2 separate regions of the Homo sapiens genome follow, and region 1 is linked to region 2. Evidence: promoter capture Hi-C in human tissues and cell types (Jung and others, 2019). All regions are on one chromosome and are shown on one strand. The core of a region is centred on a gene start or on the middle of the fragment in contact, and the rest is flanking DNA. Distances in the headings are between cores, read along the strand shown.

What was found. The method cuts DNA at HindIII sites, captures the fragments that hold promoters and counts their contacts. A contact is called where the count stands out against the background at its distance.
Region 1: a fragment that was not itself captured here is called in contact with the fragment with the promoter of LTBP2 in region 2 in 1 of the 25 tissues and cell types used here (IMR-90 fibroblasts).

The regions. Positions count from the first base shown.
Region 1 is chr14:74,395,974-74,403,218 of GRCh38, forward strand. No RefSeq gene overlaps it. Among named protein-coding and RNA genes, the nearest start is that of SYNDIG1L, 27 kb to the right of the region's middle. RefSeq lists enhancers at 5,579-6,488, 5,706-6,035. The HindIII fragment of the contact is 6,963 bases long and covers 1-6,634 here.
Region 2 is chr14:74,610,946-74,617,426 of GRCh38, forward strand. LTBP2 (latent transforming growth factor beta binding protein 2) reads right to left here and starts at 1,292. Exons shown (of 36, transcript NM_000428.3): 1 at 506-1,292. The coding sequence starts at 999. It overlaps LOC101928352 (a long non-coding RNA gene), which reads left to right and starts at 2,240. Exons shown (of 2, transcript XR_944029.4): 1 at 2,240-2,350; 2 at 2,622-3,103. RefSeq lists an enhancer at 1,348-1,975 and a silencer at 1,603-1,922. The HindIII fragment of the contact is 13,991 bases long and covers 1-6,481 here.

The DNA of each region.
Region 1 (7,245 bases), core at 1,903-4,402, 210 kb before region 2:
TCCAGCTATCCTGAGCAACACACAGTTCCCCTGCATGGGCAGGGTGGCAAATGGCCTGTCTCCTGGGCAGAGGCCTGCACAGTGGGAAGGGTATGGCAGCCAGGACCTGCACTCATGCCACTGACACACATCTCTAGCTGGATACTGGCTGTCATCCCCAACTCAGGGACCAACCCCCTCCCCAGGTCCTGGTGGTCCTGTTTCCCAGGATCCCTGCTCCCTCTCTAGGTGTCTGTTCTGGGTCCCTATGGGATGTGGGTTCCTATGGCTCTGTCCTCTTCGTAGAAAACCAAAGGCTATTTCTGGTCATCACCATCCACTGGCTGGCTTCACGAGTGCTAGGCAGTTTTGCTGGCCTTCTTTAGGTTGCAGGGAGCGGCTATTCCTTAAAACACACATTCCTCTCTCCATGACCCTCACCCTGCCCAGTGTCATTTAGGAAGGGAATAGGAAAGAGGCAATGGGGGAAGTGAGGAGGGCAGAGAGAAACAGATCAGTGGCATCAGGCTTGAGGGTTGGGATGGGGTCATGACCAAGGTGCCTGAACTGTGGAGGAGGATGACCTGTGCTCAAATTCCCCTTGCTAGCTGGGTTTAGATTCCAACTTCCACCTATTCGCTGTGTGACAAAGGGCAAGTTACTTTACCTTTCTGGACCTCAGTTTCCTTATCCCTAAAGCAGGGATCTCAATAGAACCAGCCTCCTAGGGATATTCCAAGGGTTCACTGAGTAATATTTGTAAAGTGCTTAGAACAAGGTTTGGCACAGAGTAAATACTCTATATCTTTTTATTATGATGCTTCAATTTATGTAGTTGATTTTACGAGTCTTTGACAGTCCTTTTGTTTTTGTTTGCTTAAGCTGTCACCTACCTGGGCACAGGAGTTATAATGTGAGAAGTCAGACATTAGTCTGATACTCAGAGAAATAAACGCACAATTACAGCTGGAACCTGGGCTTTGAAGAAGGAGAACATGGGGCTCAAAGATGTTCAATCATGGGGATAGACCTGGCCAGGCTGGGGAGAAGAGGGCTTCCCAGAGGAAGTGCCTTTAGAACCAAGGCAGGAAGGATGAATAGGAGCTAATTAGTCCAAGAAGGAAAGGAAAAGTATTTCAGGCAGAAGAAGTTGCATATGCAAAGGCCCTGCAAGTGTGAAGGGCTGAAGGAAGGCAGACATGGTGAGGTGCAGGGAGCTTGGGTTGTGGTGTGAAGTGGCAGGGGCTCATAAGCAGGTTAGTTTGGTTTTTTATCTAAGAGAAATAGATGTCCTTTGAAAGCTTTAATCAAGGGAGGATGACTCGACCAAATTTGCCTTCAGGAAAATTCAATGTAGCTAAAAAGAGGCCAGGGAGGAGGCAGGGAGAACATTTCAGAGGGTTGCTTTTTTTTCCTCCCCGCATTAAAATCATCCTCGAAAAGAGACTGGGCAGATTTATAATAGCATTAGAATATTTAAAACATGTAATACATTTGTTTAACTTCAAACACATTTCAGCATTCTCAACATACAAAAAATAACAGAACATTACAAATCGTGTTTAAATACAGACGGTTCTTGAACTTTCATTGACGTGATGTCTCTTGCTTTGCTGATAATGAGGAGTTCTACAGTTTGTTTAAAAACAGTTTTCTGCTGGGCGTGGTGGCTCATGCCTATAATCCTAGCACTTTGAGAGGCCGAGGTGGGCAAAGTGGGTGGATCACTTGAGCCCAGGTGTTCGAGACCAGCCTGGGCAACATGACAAAACCCTGTCTCTACAAAAAAATACAAAAATTAGCCTGGCATGGTGGCAGGTGCCTGTAGTCCCAGCTACTCAGGAGGCTGAGGTGGGAGGATCACCTGAGTCCAGGGGGTTAAAGCTGCAGTGAGTCGAGGTCACGCCACTGCACTCCAGCCTGGGTAACAGAGTGAGACCCTGTTTCAAAAAAAAAAAAAAAAGTTTAAAAATTACCACACTTAACTAAAACAAACAAACTAAACCCCCCAAACACTTCTCATGCCGGCTGACCCTCTTTGTCCACAGCTAAGAATGGCAGCAGAATGCTCCGTCACTATATGCAGAAACAAGACAACTTGAAGCTAAATGGAAGCCCTGCAGAGTCAACAGGTCCAGATTCACAGTGCACGCCCTGAGCTACAGCCCCTCCAAAAGGCATCTTCCCCCAGAGCCTCAATGCCAAGCAAGGAGCCGTCAAGAGTCTGCCTTGGTTGTTTTGTTCTTTTTACAAACCGTACAGATATACAATTGATAACTCAGGATTTCTAGTCAATAACCAGATAGTTAACACCACCTTATTAAAAAAAAAAAAGCCAGAAACATCTTTAAATGCCTTGTCACTCCAATAGCAAAGCGCACAGAATGAGAACACAAGAGTGCCTTTTCATTTTAAAAATGTTTGGAAATATGTACAACTTTGATAGCATTTCAGAGTGCACCAGACACCACTGCCGCTTCATGTATACCACTGACAATTTCTAGAGCACTTTGAGAGGCTACAATATGATCATGATCAAATTTTGTAATTAAACCTGATAAGGGCAACAGACACTACTTCTCAAATAAGAGATGTGTCAATTACAGCGCTCCCCTACTCTAAGGCAGGGGTGTCCGATCTTTTGGCTTCCCCGGGCCACACTAGAAGAAGAATTGCCTTAGGCCACACATGAAATACACTAATAATAACGATAGCTGATGAGCTAAACACACGTGCGTGCACACACACACACACTGACACACACTTCATAATGTTTCAAGAAAGTTTACGAATTTGTGTTGGGCAGCATTCAAAGCTGTCCTGGGCTGTGTAGGCTACAGGTTGGACAAGCTTGCTCTAAGGTACTTACAAGGAAACAGATAAACTATGTTTAAAATTTCTTGCCAGGTGTGGTGGCTCACGCCTGTAATTCCAGCACTTCAGGACTTTGGGAGGCCGAGGTGGGGGGATCACTTGAGGTTGGGAATTCGAGACCAGCCTGGCCAACATGGCGAAACCCCGTCTCTACTGAAAATACAAAAATTAGCTGAGTGTGGTGGCATGCGCCTTTAGTCCTAGCTACTTGGGAGGCTGATGCATGAGAATCACTTGAATCTGGGAGGCAGAGGTTGCAGTGAGCAGAGATTGTGCCACTGTACTCCAGCCTGGGAGACAGAGCAAGATTCTGTCTCAAAACAAAACAAAACAAACACATAGCATAAAATTTACCATCTTACCCATTTTAAGTGTACGGTTCAGTACAATTAAGTACATGCATGTTGTTTTGCAACAGATCTCTAGAACTTTCTCAATTTGCAAAGCTGACACTCTATGCCCATTAAACAAATCCCAGTTTTTCCCTCCCCCAGCTCCTGGCAATCACCATTCTTCTTTCTCTTTCTAGGAATGTGACTACCCGAGGTACCTCACATAAATGGAATCATCCAGTATTTGTTCTTTGGAGACTGGCTTATTTCACTTAGCCTGATCTCCTTAAAGTTCATCCATGTTGCATCATGTGATAGGTCATTTAGGAGGTTTTGCAGGAGTCTGAGTAAGAGCTGATGGGGGCTTGGACTAGGGCTTGGAGATAGAGATAGCAGGAAATAGAGTCGGGGAGATTGGGGAGTGGTAGAGTCACAGGACTTGGTGAAGGATGGGAAAGTGCTCCTGTTTCTGGCCTTGGTCTTCAGAGGTGACTGTGGACAGGCCAGTGGTACCCAGACTTGTAGGCTCCTTTGGACAATGGGGGTTGGGGGTGACCCAGGGGCTAAGTTGGGTGCAGAGGAAACCAAGGAAGAACCTCTTCTCTATCCTCAGCCCACAGCCTGGGGGAGACCAGAGGAGGAGAGCAGTGAGCAGCTGCTCTGGCTTCTTTGTTCCCCTTGTTTATTCTTCCTACAGAGCACAGACCTTGCAGCACCAGAAGGGTGGTCTTTATGGCATCCCTGATGAAAGAGGGGAGGAGGTGGGTAAAGTTCTGTGCTGTGTCCCTTTGCAGATACCACCAGGCTGGGCACCCCACGGGCTCATACTGCTCTTTCTGGTCTCTTTGATCGTCCTCGGAATTGTAAAGTCCTTGCCACCTAGAGACTTCCTCCCTGCTCCCATCTACCCCAAGATGTGGATGATTTTCCCATTGAAGAGGAAATTAAAGTGGAAAGAACCTTGCCCCGACTCCCTCCAGCCTGGAGGCAAGTCACTTCTTTCCCAGTGATGTCAACAGTGAACAAGGGTCGAGTGTCTGTGGAAGGCAGTCCCCACGTCAGACCTGGGATGCCCTGAGCAAACACGAGCTCCACCCTCAGAAAAGCAGATGTCTAGATGTGGCCGTCATGTCGATATGAACAGGTGTAGCGGTGGTTCACGAAAGAGGGTGGCTAGTTCTACCTGGTGTTGGGGCTGGGGTGAGTTGACAGAAACAGCTGCCGAGAAAATGAGGTTTTCTTGAGACGTGTCTTGGAAAATTATTTTTATCAGTTTGGAGGAAAAGAATCTCAGGGTGTGGAGGCAGATACCAGAATTACAGGCAGGGGGAGCAGCCTAAACAAAGGCAGCGAGACGGGAAACAGGCCCTGCCTTCAGCTTGCTGCCAGCCGAGATCTGCCCAGAGACCAGCAGGGACCAGAGCTATCAGGACTTTGGCTATTATCTCTGGCTATGGAAGGGATGGGGCTGAGGGAGGTGACACACTTCTGGCAGGGAAGCCATTTAAATGGTGGTCAGCTGGAGATAATTTTAAAGAAATTCCATATAGCACTTACGAGACACTCAATTTTGCGGGAGCCATACAAGTGTTAATTCATGTAATATTCACAGTCATCTTAACGGGGTCAGTCACCATCACGATCCCCGTTTTCCAGATGAGAAAACACCAAGCAACATCTTACCCGAAGTTGCACAGAGGCTGGGGATGGGATTTGAACTGGGTGGTGGGCTCCCCTCTTCTCTGCTGTTAACCACTGGGCTGTGCTCTGGGCCAGCCAGCTCTGAGCGCAAGTGTTAGGGACAGGGCTGGCGGAGGTTAATGAGGGAAAATGGCCAGGAGTTGGCTTCAGGAAGGGAGGCAGTGGGTGAGGGTGGAGCCACAGCAGGCTCCCAGAGGACGAGGCACCATTCACTGATCTGTGGAACTGGGAAAGGCCTCGAGGTCCTCAGTCTTCCTGTCTGTGAAATGGGGACAAGAACACCAGCCTCAGTGGTAGAAAGAGTGGTGTGAAGGTCCTTTGTGCACCCAGGGTGCTCTGTCAACGTAGCCTGGCCCTGCTGCCTCACCCCAGCCCTGCCCACTGGTGCAAGCACACTCACTGTCCCCTTTGTCCCCTTCTGGCTGCCTCTGAGGGATCCTGCCCCCTGGGAGTTTCTTTCTCTGTCATTTCCTGGAGGAGCTAGAACTGGCTTTGAAACCTGCCTGGCTCTTTAGTGGGAGAGAGGTAAAAGCAGTTCAAGGGATGTGGGCTGGAAGTATTTGGAAATGCAGATGGGCCACACGAGCACCTTTTATTTTTGTTCAGAACATCTGAGTCTCCCCGTGGGGACTCCCCCGCCCAGAGTAGCTCCTCCCCCCATGGCAGAGAGGATGAGAGAGCACCCGGGGGCTGCCATGAGCTCAGGGCAGGCAAAAGCAAGGCTGTCGCTCTCCTGCCCCACCCCTACCAAGCCACCAAAAATAGAAGGGCCAAGGTGTCAGCCCCAGGGAGGGGCCAGCCGGGGAAGCCTTTGAAGCCGGAAACAGCCGGGGAAGGAAGGCTGAGAGAAGCAAGTTTGTTAATATTCACTGGGCAGCAGCGGCAGTTGTCCCTGGGTTTTCTGTTTCCAAGGCAAGCAGACATCACCAGCCTAGCTCAGCAACTCCAGGGCCTGTGAGGCAAGGCCTGGGCTTGGCTCGTGACTTGCTGTGTGACACTGGGCAACTGGCAACCCTTTCTGGGTCTCTGTTGTCTCATCTGTAGCATGAGGGATTGTGACTAGATCACCTCCCGGGTTCCTTCCTGCTGCAGCGTTCCAGGACTCACACCTTTGGCCACTGACCCCTGCCCCACCTTCTGAGTGGGGTTCAGGGACTGTGCTGAGTCTGTCTCTGGGAAGCAGCAGGGTGCAGGGGCACACTGATGAGTGGTGCATGTGCCCAGGGGCAACATCAGAGCCGTTTAGCCACCAGGGCAGTCAGGCATGGACAGACGCATTTGGGAGGGGGCGGGGCCCTGTGTCAGCTGTTAACACTTCAGTTCCTGAAGCAGAGAAGTCTGGAGTTCTGGGGAGGGGCCAGGGAGGCAGGAGAGGGAAACACTGGGAGGGTTTAGGGCTTGGCCTGTTTATCAACTACTGTGGAAGTATTTTCACTGTTCTGACAATCCCTGCAACTATGTCCATGGACCTGCTGTCTATCCGCCCTGTTCATCGGGAGGAAGAGATGGAGAAGGCTGCCGGGGTTCTGGGAGTGGGTTTCTAGTCCTTCCCACCATCGGAAAAATTCTTGTCACTCGGAGTGGGGCCAGGTCACTGTTTCCCCTGGGTCCAGCCCCCAGGACCCCTGGCCTGCCACCCTTAGGACACCCCTTCTTCCCTGGGGCTGGGGAACAGTGAAGGGAGGCTCTCCTCCCACTCCTTTGCCCACAGCCCCCGTGGCTCCACTTGCCCAGCAGCTGTCCTGGACCACAGGCCAGGTGGCCTCAGTTCCTGGCTCCTCTGTGGCTGCCCCCTCTGCCATCTGCCCACCCCCACACAGGGCCCATTTGGCTACCCTCCCTTATATCCCACATCCCCTAGGTGAGGCCCTTTTCCATCCCATTCCAGCCTGGCCTGTAGGGGAGAAAGTTGAGATGGGGTTGGAGGGTGGGGTCAGCCAGAGCAGGTCCAGCATCAGGGCAGCTGCGGGGACCGGGGCTGGGTTCTTGGTGCAGGGCCCCCACTCTGCTGGCTGCCCCGACTTCCCTGTGCAGCAATTTCAGTTTCTATTTTGAACAGTTTGGGTTGGTTGCTTCTCTGTCTTCCTGCTGGGTGTTTATAGTGAGGAAAATAATTGGTAATATTTGCACAGATGTGCTGGCATTGCAGCTCGTCACGGGCACCTTTACCCAGGGGACCCTCCCTGCCCCCAGCCTGTCTCTGCCAGCCTGAGGAACCAGCCTGAAGGGGAGTAGCTGAAGCCCCTATGCCTCCCAGGGGCCTCAGGCAGCCAGACGCAGGCAGAGCTGGGAAGCAGGAGGCCTCAAGTGCCCCAGGCATGCCAGAGGCGGCCCTAAGCTGGAAGGGGGTGGGTGGGTG
Region 2 (6,481 bases), core at 42-2,541:
TCCCGACGCACCAGCTTCGCTGCCGGCTCCCCTCCTGGAGACGCATCTACCTTCTCTCCATGGGGCCCCCGACACCTCCGCCAACCCGCGCTCTGAGCCAGCTCAACCTCCCCTGGGCGTCAAGAGCCTGGAGCGCCCACCCTCCTGCCCTCTCCCCGCTGCCTCTCAGATCCCGGCAGCGCTGCAAGAGTCTACAAGAGCTCGTTAGTTGCAGGCAGGAGGAACGCGGGCGAGTGGAGAGGCGCCTTGCGAAAGGATTTAACGTCGGGGCTCCGGGAGAGTTGGTAAGAAAGGATGAGGATGATGATCTATCTGCCTTCAACTCTTCGAAAGCGGATCAAATCTTCCAATCCCGATTTTGGAACCTCGGGGCTGTTTCCCGAAGTACTAAAGACAGAGGGACGAGGGTATGAGAGCGGCGCCCTCTCCTCTCGCCTGCACGCCCCTCCACAAATGAGCCCTGGCTCCCCTCTGTACCCTCCAAACTTCCCTCTCCCATGCTCACCCCGTGAGCCGCCCTCGCGGCGGGGTTGGGGGCGCAGCCCCAGACCGCTGTGGGGTCCCCAGGCGTGGGAGAGCCGGCGCGGCCCGGGTCCGGGGTGCTGGTTGCTGCTGGCCCAGGGGAGTGCTTCTCCGGGTCTGCGCAGGTGGCTGGACACGCCGCGACTGCTGCGCGCGGGACGGCCTCCTGGCCTCCGCCTCGGTGGGCCTCCTGGGGCTCCCCCAGCCCGGCTGGGCCCGCTCCACGGGCTGCAAGCCCGCGACAGGCGCGTCCTGCTCCCGGAACAGACTGTACACCTTGGCTGCAGCCGCTGCCGGGTAGCTGCCCCCAGGGCGCCGCAGTCGATTCGCGTCTCCACCAGCCGGCTCGTATCTCCCTACGGGGTCCCTTTGGGCATGACCCGCGCCCACGAAGAGAGCCAGGGTGAGCGGCAGGAAGCCTCTCCAGGGGTTCCGCAGGGCGCGCCCCGGGCTGCGGGCTTTGGTCCGCGGCCTCATGGCGCGGGGCGGCTGGAGAGTGGTGCGCGCGGGCACCGCGAAGAGCTTTGTGGTCGGCACGCTGGACGCCCGCGGGCTGTTCTCCCGGCCCCGCCCGGCGGCCAGCTTCTCTGAGTCTAGGGGGCCCTGAAGCGGCCGACTGGGGGCCCGGCTCTCGGCGGAACGAGGGCTGCGCGCCCCGAGCCTCGAGTCCGCGCTCCTACTCCAGCTGGGCTCGCACGGCTGCTGCACCTTCGCGCCTCCTCCCTGTGCCTGCAGCCGTCTGAAGGGGACCCGGACGGTTTTATTTTTGGAAACCTCCCCCGGCTTTTTCGTCTCTTTTATCCACACCAGGCCCCCTCCTCGGAGGGACAGCTCAGCCCCCTCATTACCGGAGAGGGAGCGAGGAATTCCAGCAACACCCACTTTGGCACCGGGAAGCCAGCGGGCGGCGAGCGGGCGGCGAGGGGGATTAACCCGTGCGGAGCAGGGGGCGGCGCGGGGCTGACCCAGGCGCTGGTCGGGCAGATGGCGCCTGCCACGACCGGGACACTGGGCCGCCTTTCTCCTGCTCTGGGCAAGTTCGAACTGCAGACCTGCCCCGAATCGTTCTCCCGCCCCTCGCCTCAGGGACCGTCTTTGGATCGGGGGACCCAGGCTGCAGCCTTGCAGGTCTGAAGGAAGCCGGGAGGGGCGCCGAGGCCCGCGTAGGGGAACAGGGCCGCCGCCCCCTCCGCTTGCGCCCTGGCCGCTGGGGGCGCCCTCCGCAGGGCCGGCCGGAGCGGGGGTGGCGCGGGGCGGGGCGCGGCGCGCGGAGCGCAGGGAGGTCCCGGGCGCGCCCCCTGGCGGAGCTGGCGGCCCTGGCGCTCCGTGGCTGCAATGCCCTGGCGCCGCCGCCTTCGCTCTGGATCTCAATCCCCTTCCACTGGCGTGAGGGTCACGCCTGAGCCTGGCGCGGTGATGGCTGCCGGTAGAAGAGGGGTCCTCTTTTTCTTTTTCTTTTTCTTTTCTTTCTTTCTTTCTTTCTTTTTTTTGAGACGGAGTTTCGCTCTTGTTGCCCAGGCTGGAGTGCAATGGTGCGATCTCAGCTCCCCGCAACCTCCGCCTCCCGGGTTCAAGCGATTCCCCTGCCTCAGCCTCCCTAGTAGCTGGGATTACAGGCATGCGCCACCAAGTCTGACTAATTTTGTATATTATTTTATTTTTTAGTACAGACGGGGTTTCTCCATGTTGGTCAGGCTGGTCTCGAACTCCCAACCTCAGGTGATCCGCCCGCCTCGGCCTCCCAAAGTGCTGGGATTAAAGGCGTGAGCCACCACGCCCGGCCAAGGGGTCCTCTTTTTCACCGAGGCAAAGACACGGAGCCTCTTGAGTAAGTCACTCAAGGAGATAGCGCATGTGAAAGAGGGGAGTGGAATCTAGGCCTCCCGCCTCTGGCTGAATCCATTCCCGGGATCCCACCCAGCCCTTCACTCTCTCGGGAATTTCCCAGAGGGGGATTCGGTGACCCCGATTGACCCAGTGTGTGCATTCACATCTTGTGTTAGCAGGGAGGCGGGCAGGGGTGTGGGAATGCTGACTGCCGCTGTCTGCGTGTCCCCAGTAATCAGCACACCATTCTCACCCATGCTCCCTCCCTACAGCCTAAAGGCTTGGATCAACAGGGCTGCCCCTGGCACATTTGTACAGCCTATTTCCCAGAGAGGCAGAGTGAAGGAGCTGGCATGTGGGCACCAGTTCACAACCTCCCACACCACACAAAAGACAAGCCCAGGTAATATCTACTGTTGAAATAAAGCCTCGACCCCTGGCCTTGGCCTACAAACCCTAGCTGGCTGCCCCCGCTCTGATTTCATCTGGCCTCTTGCTCTCCCTTACCCACCACACTGTGCTGCCTTGGCCCTCTCTCTGCTCCTTGAACAAGCCAAGTGAATGCCCCCTTCCCTCTACTGGAAGGTTCCTCTCCAGGATGTTAGAGGGTAGTTCCTCATCACTGCTCCTCTCAGATTAAATATCAGCTCCTGGAGTAGCCATCCCTGACCTCCAATCTAGAGCAGCCCTCCCTCACCCCAGTCATGACTCTAACACACCACCCTGTTTCATCTTCATAAAACAGTTGACATCATCTTGTTATTGATTTGTTTGCTCGTGTAACTGAATTTTTTAATGGGCTGAACCTAAAGAGGGACTATCCAGAAACTGCTCCACTACTACCTTCAACCATATTATGGTAAATTTCCCTTTCCCACCCTTAATGACATCTCAGGCAGAGTCCTTGGCTTGAGAGGTCATCCCTACCAGACACGAGAACTATTCTATTAATATAATTAAGACCCATTTTCAGACACAAAAAGTCTGCTCCTGTCCAGATCAAAATCTCATCCAAGTTAATCAATATCACATCCCATTTAATAGTCCTCCTCTCCCCTGTCCCTTTGCTAGAGATCCTGCAGTGGTGAGAGTGGGGTGTGGTCTGTTTTCCTGACCTCCCTTTTCTGCTGTGGCTCCTCTTTGTCAAGGCTGGGAGAGAGGTGTTAGAGGAAAAGTAGCAAAGTCTTATGTGACAGGTACCCTTGGTTGGCAGGTGCCAAGCGCTGGCTTTTTCATGGGCACATATGTGGGTTTTTGGGAGGTTCTCTACAGGACCTCCACCCTGAGTTGCCATAGCAAATTACTCTCTGGCCAACCTCTCGGAGACCCCTGCATCCTCTGTCTCTCATAGGACTGTCCCACCTATGCCAGGCAAAACAATGGTGGGTTGGCCGCTCCTCACCCTGCCCACTTCTCACCTTGCCACACAGGCCACTCCAGCGAGGCTCCACGATCAGAATTCTCCAGACAGGAAGTGCACACAAGTCTCTTCATTTATGTACGTCCTCAATTCCTAAAGACATATGTTGGGTTCTCCCATGAACTGTCTTGCTGTAGTTTAATGCACCGAGGTGCCTGTAACATCCAGCAACATAGTCAGCATCAGTGGGGGGACAGTTATAGGGACAGAGCCTCCTCTTCTTGCAGATGACTGGTTCTCTCTGGGAGCTCCCTTCATTTGGTTTGAGTTGGGGAGTTCCCTCAGGGGAAATCTCAGCCCTGCCCACAAATGCAGCAGTGTTATGCTTCAGTGACTTTCTTCAATCCCTTTCATTTGTAGACTGGAATTGAGGGATGTAGTTTGATTGCTGTTGAACCTGTTCTGCCTTTAGTAAGGTGTCTAGTACTTCTCTTCAGAATGCAAGAATATTTAGCCCTCATTGTTCTATCTTTGTGGCTTCAGCAGATATTCCAAGAGCAGAGGAAAAGTCCTATTCAACAACCTATAAAATCATTTCTTGTCTGACTTCCCAAACCACAATGACAGCTCTAAAGCAACAGATATCTTGTCTGCGTTGCTCACCACTGTTTCTGCAGAACCTAGAACAGCCAAGAAGTATGTGTGAAATGGATAGCTAACTGAATGAAGGACACAGTAATCCCATCAAGTGGGGAGGGCTGGTATCATTAGACCCATTTTAAGAGAGAGGAACTGAGTTCTGGGTGGCAGCTCCTGATCCAGGTTCATGTGCTTGCTGCCTTTGGGGCTGGCTCTAAAGATCTCCTTGAACCCTACCCCTTGCATTTGACCATGAATGCCCCTTAGTTCCCAGAATGCTGCGTTCTGTTCCTGGGATGCTGCTCCTTCACAGCTGTGGAAGCCCCAGGTCCACACTTACCTCTCCTTGCCCAGATATCCACCCACCTCTGTAGTTCTGGGCTCCCTTCCTCTCCCCGGAACCTACCCACTTCCTTCAGAAGCTCCCCTCTAGATCCCTCAAGACCCACCTCAGATCCCCGTGGGCCTCCAAAAGCCAGAAACCTTGGCATCATCTTCGTCCCTGAGCTATTTTTTCCTCCTGTGTGTCCAAGTCATTATTACTGCTCCGTCTCCTCCGTCTGCATTTCTGGAAGTCTGCCGCCCATTCATCCCTCACCCTTCGCCTCCGCCAAAACCCTCACGCAGACCAACTTTCCCTCACCATCGGGCGCCCCTTCCACTCCTCAGTGAGTACAAGTGGTCCTTGGACGTTCCCACCCTGTTCGCCTGGGGACCATAACCCAGTTCATCTACTCCAAAGACTGGCATCTTCTACCCCATCCCGGCGCCACACTCTGTCCTGCCACCTACTTACTGCCCATATCTCCCTTACCCTCTAACTGCTGGGACTGATTGCAGCTCTTCAGAATCTCCAATCCCACAAACACTTGAGTTTTGCTTTTTTTTTTTAACCTGCCAAAATCGATAGAGCCTACTTTAGTCCAAACGCCATACTAAGCATGTTACATCAATTGGCTGATTTAACCAACCAAAGGAGGCATTATGATTTCCACGCATACAAAGGAGGAAACTGAGGTTGGCAATGGCTACTGGCTTGCCCAAGATGGCACAGCTGATAAATAGCAGAGGCAGGATTCAAACCTGGATCATTTTCCACCTGAGCCCAAGCTTTTAAGGTTACACCGCCTTGCCTCCACCCCGGGCTTGTAAGCCTGGAGCCCTCTTCACAATTGAATCATGACCTTTCCAACCACCCCACCACTATCACCACCAAAGGAGCTCTAGGGCATATCCCCAAATGCCCTCTTCCCTGCCTGCCAGCCCACTGTTCATGTACCTGGAGCTCATGTACCTGGAGATGTGGAGTTATCAGAACTTTCTGCCACCCTTAATCCTCTTGGCCCAGTGAAAGAAGGGAAGCTGTTTCAGCATGGCCGCTGACTCACCGTGTGTCACTTCCCCACCCCCTGATTAAAGCCTTCTCCCTCATTAGATCGCTGCTAAGCCTACTCACCCATCTCTTGGGTCTGGAGAGGAAAATCATCTCTGGAAAACCCGGCAGAGAGAGTCTAAAGGGTTGATAAAGAGATTCCAGCAGGGAAAGGTTTGCCCAGACACATGCCCCATGCAAGGGACAGCAGTCTCCTGGACTCCCAGGGCAAACTCACTGCTTTTCCATGTCTCACTGGAATAATGTTGGCAGCCAGAGGTCTACCAGAACCTGAGCTAATTTGGTAAATAAGGACCAAAAACAAGGGCCACATTTCGGCCCCCTTTGCTGAGACCCAGACTCCTGAAAGAATTCCAGGGATTTTTCTTGCTTGGAAGTAACTGGACCTCCAGCCCTGAATTCCTCTCCCCAGGAGAGCTTGTTCCCCTGCTCAGAACAAATAACACATTTCCTGGTTAATCAGAGGGCAGAATCGCTGAAGGAAAGTTTGACTGGGCCCCCAGCCTTCCAGACGGGAGCCGCTCATGGGCTTGGATGTTCTGCTCCAGACACTGGGCAGCTGGGACCCCAGCACTGCGCAGCCTCAGCCTCCAGTTTGGAAGGTGCAGGCCGTACAGAGAGGTGCCGACTCCCTCCTGTGTGAGGTTGTTAAGGCCCGCAAAGGCTGCCAGAACCATTCCACCTTAGGTGCCATGACCTGGCGTCCCCTCAAGAATTCACAACCACCCTGCCCTGGTCTG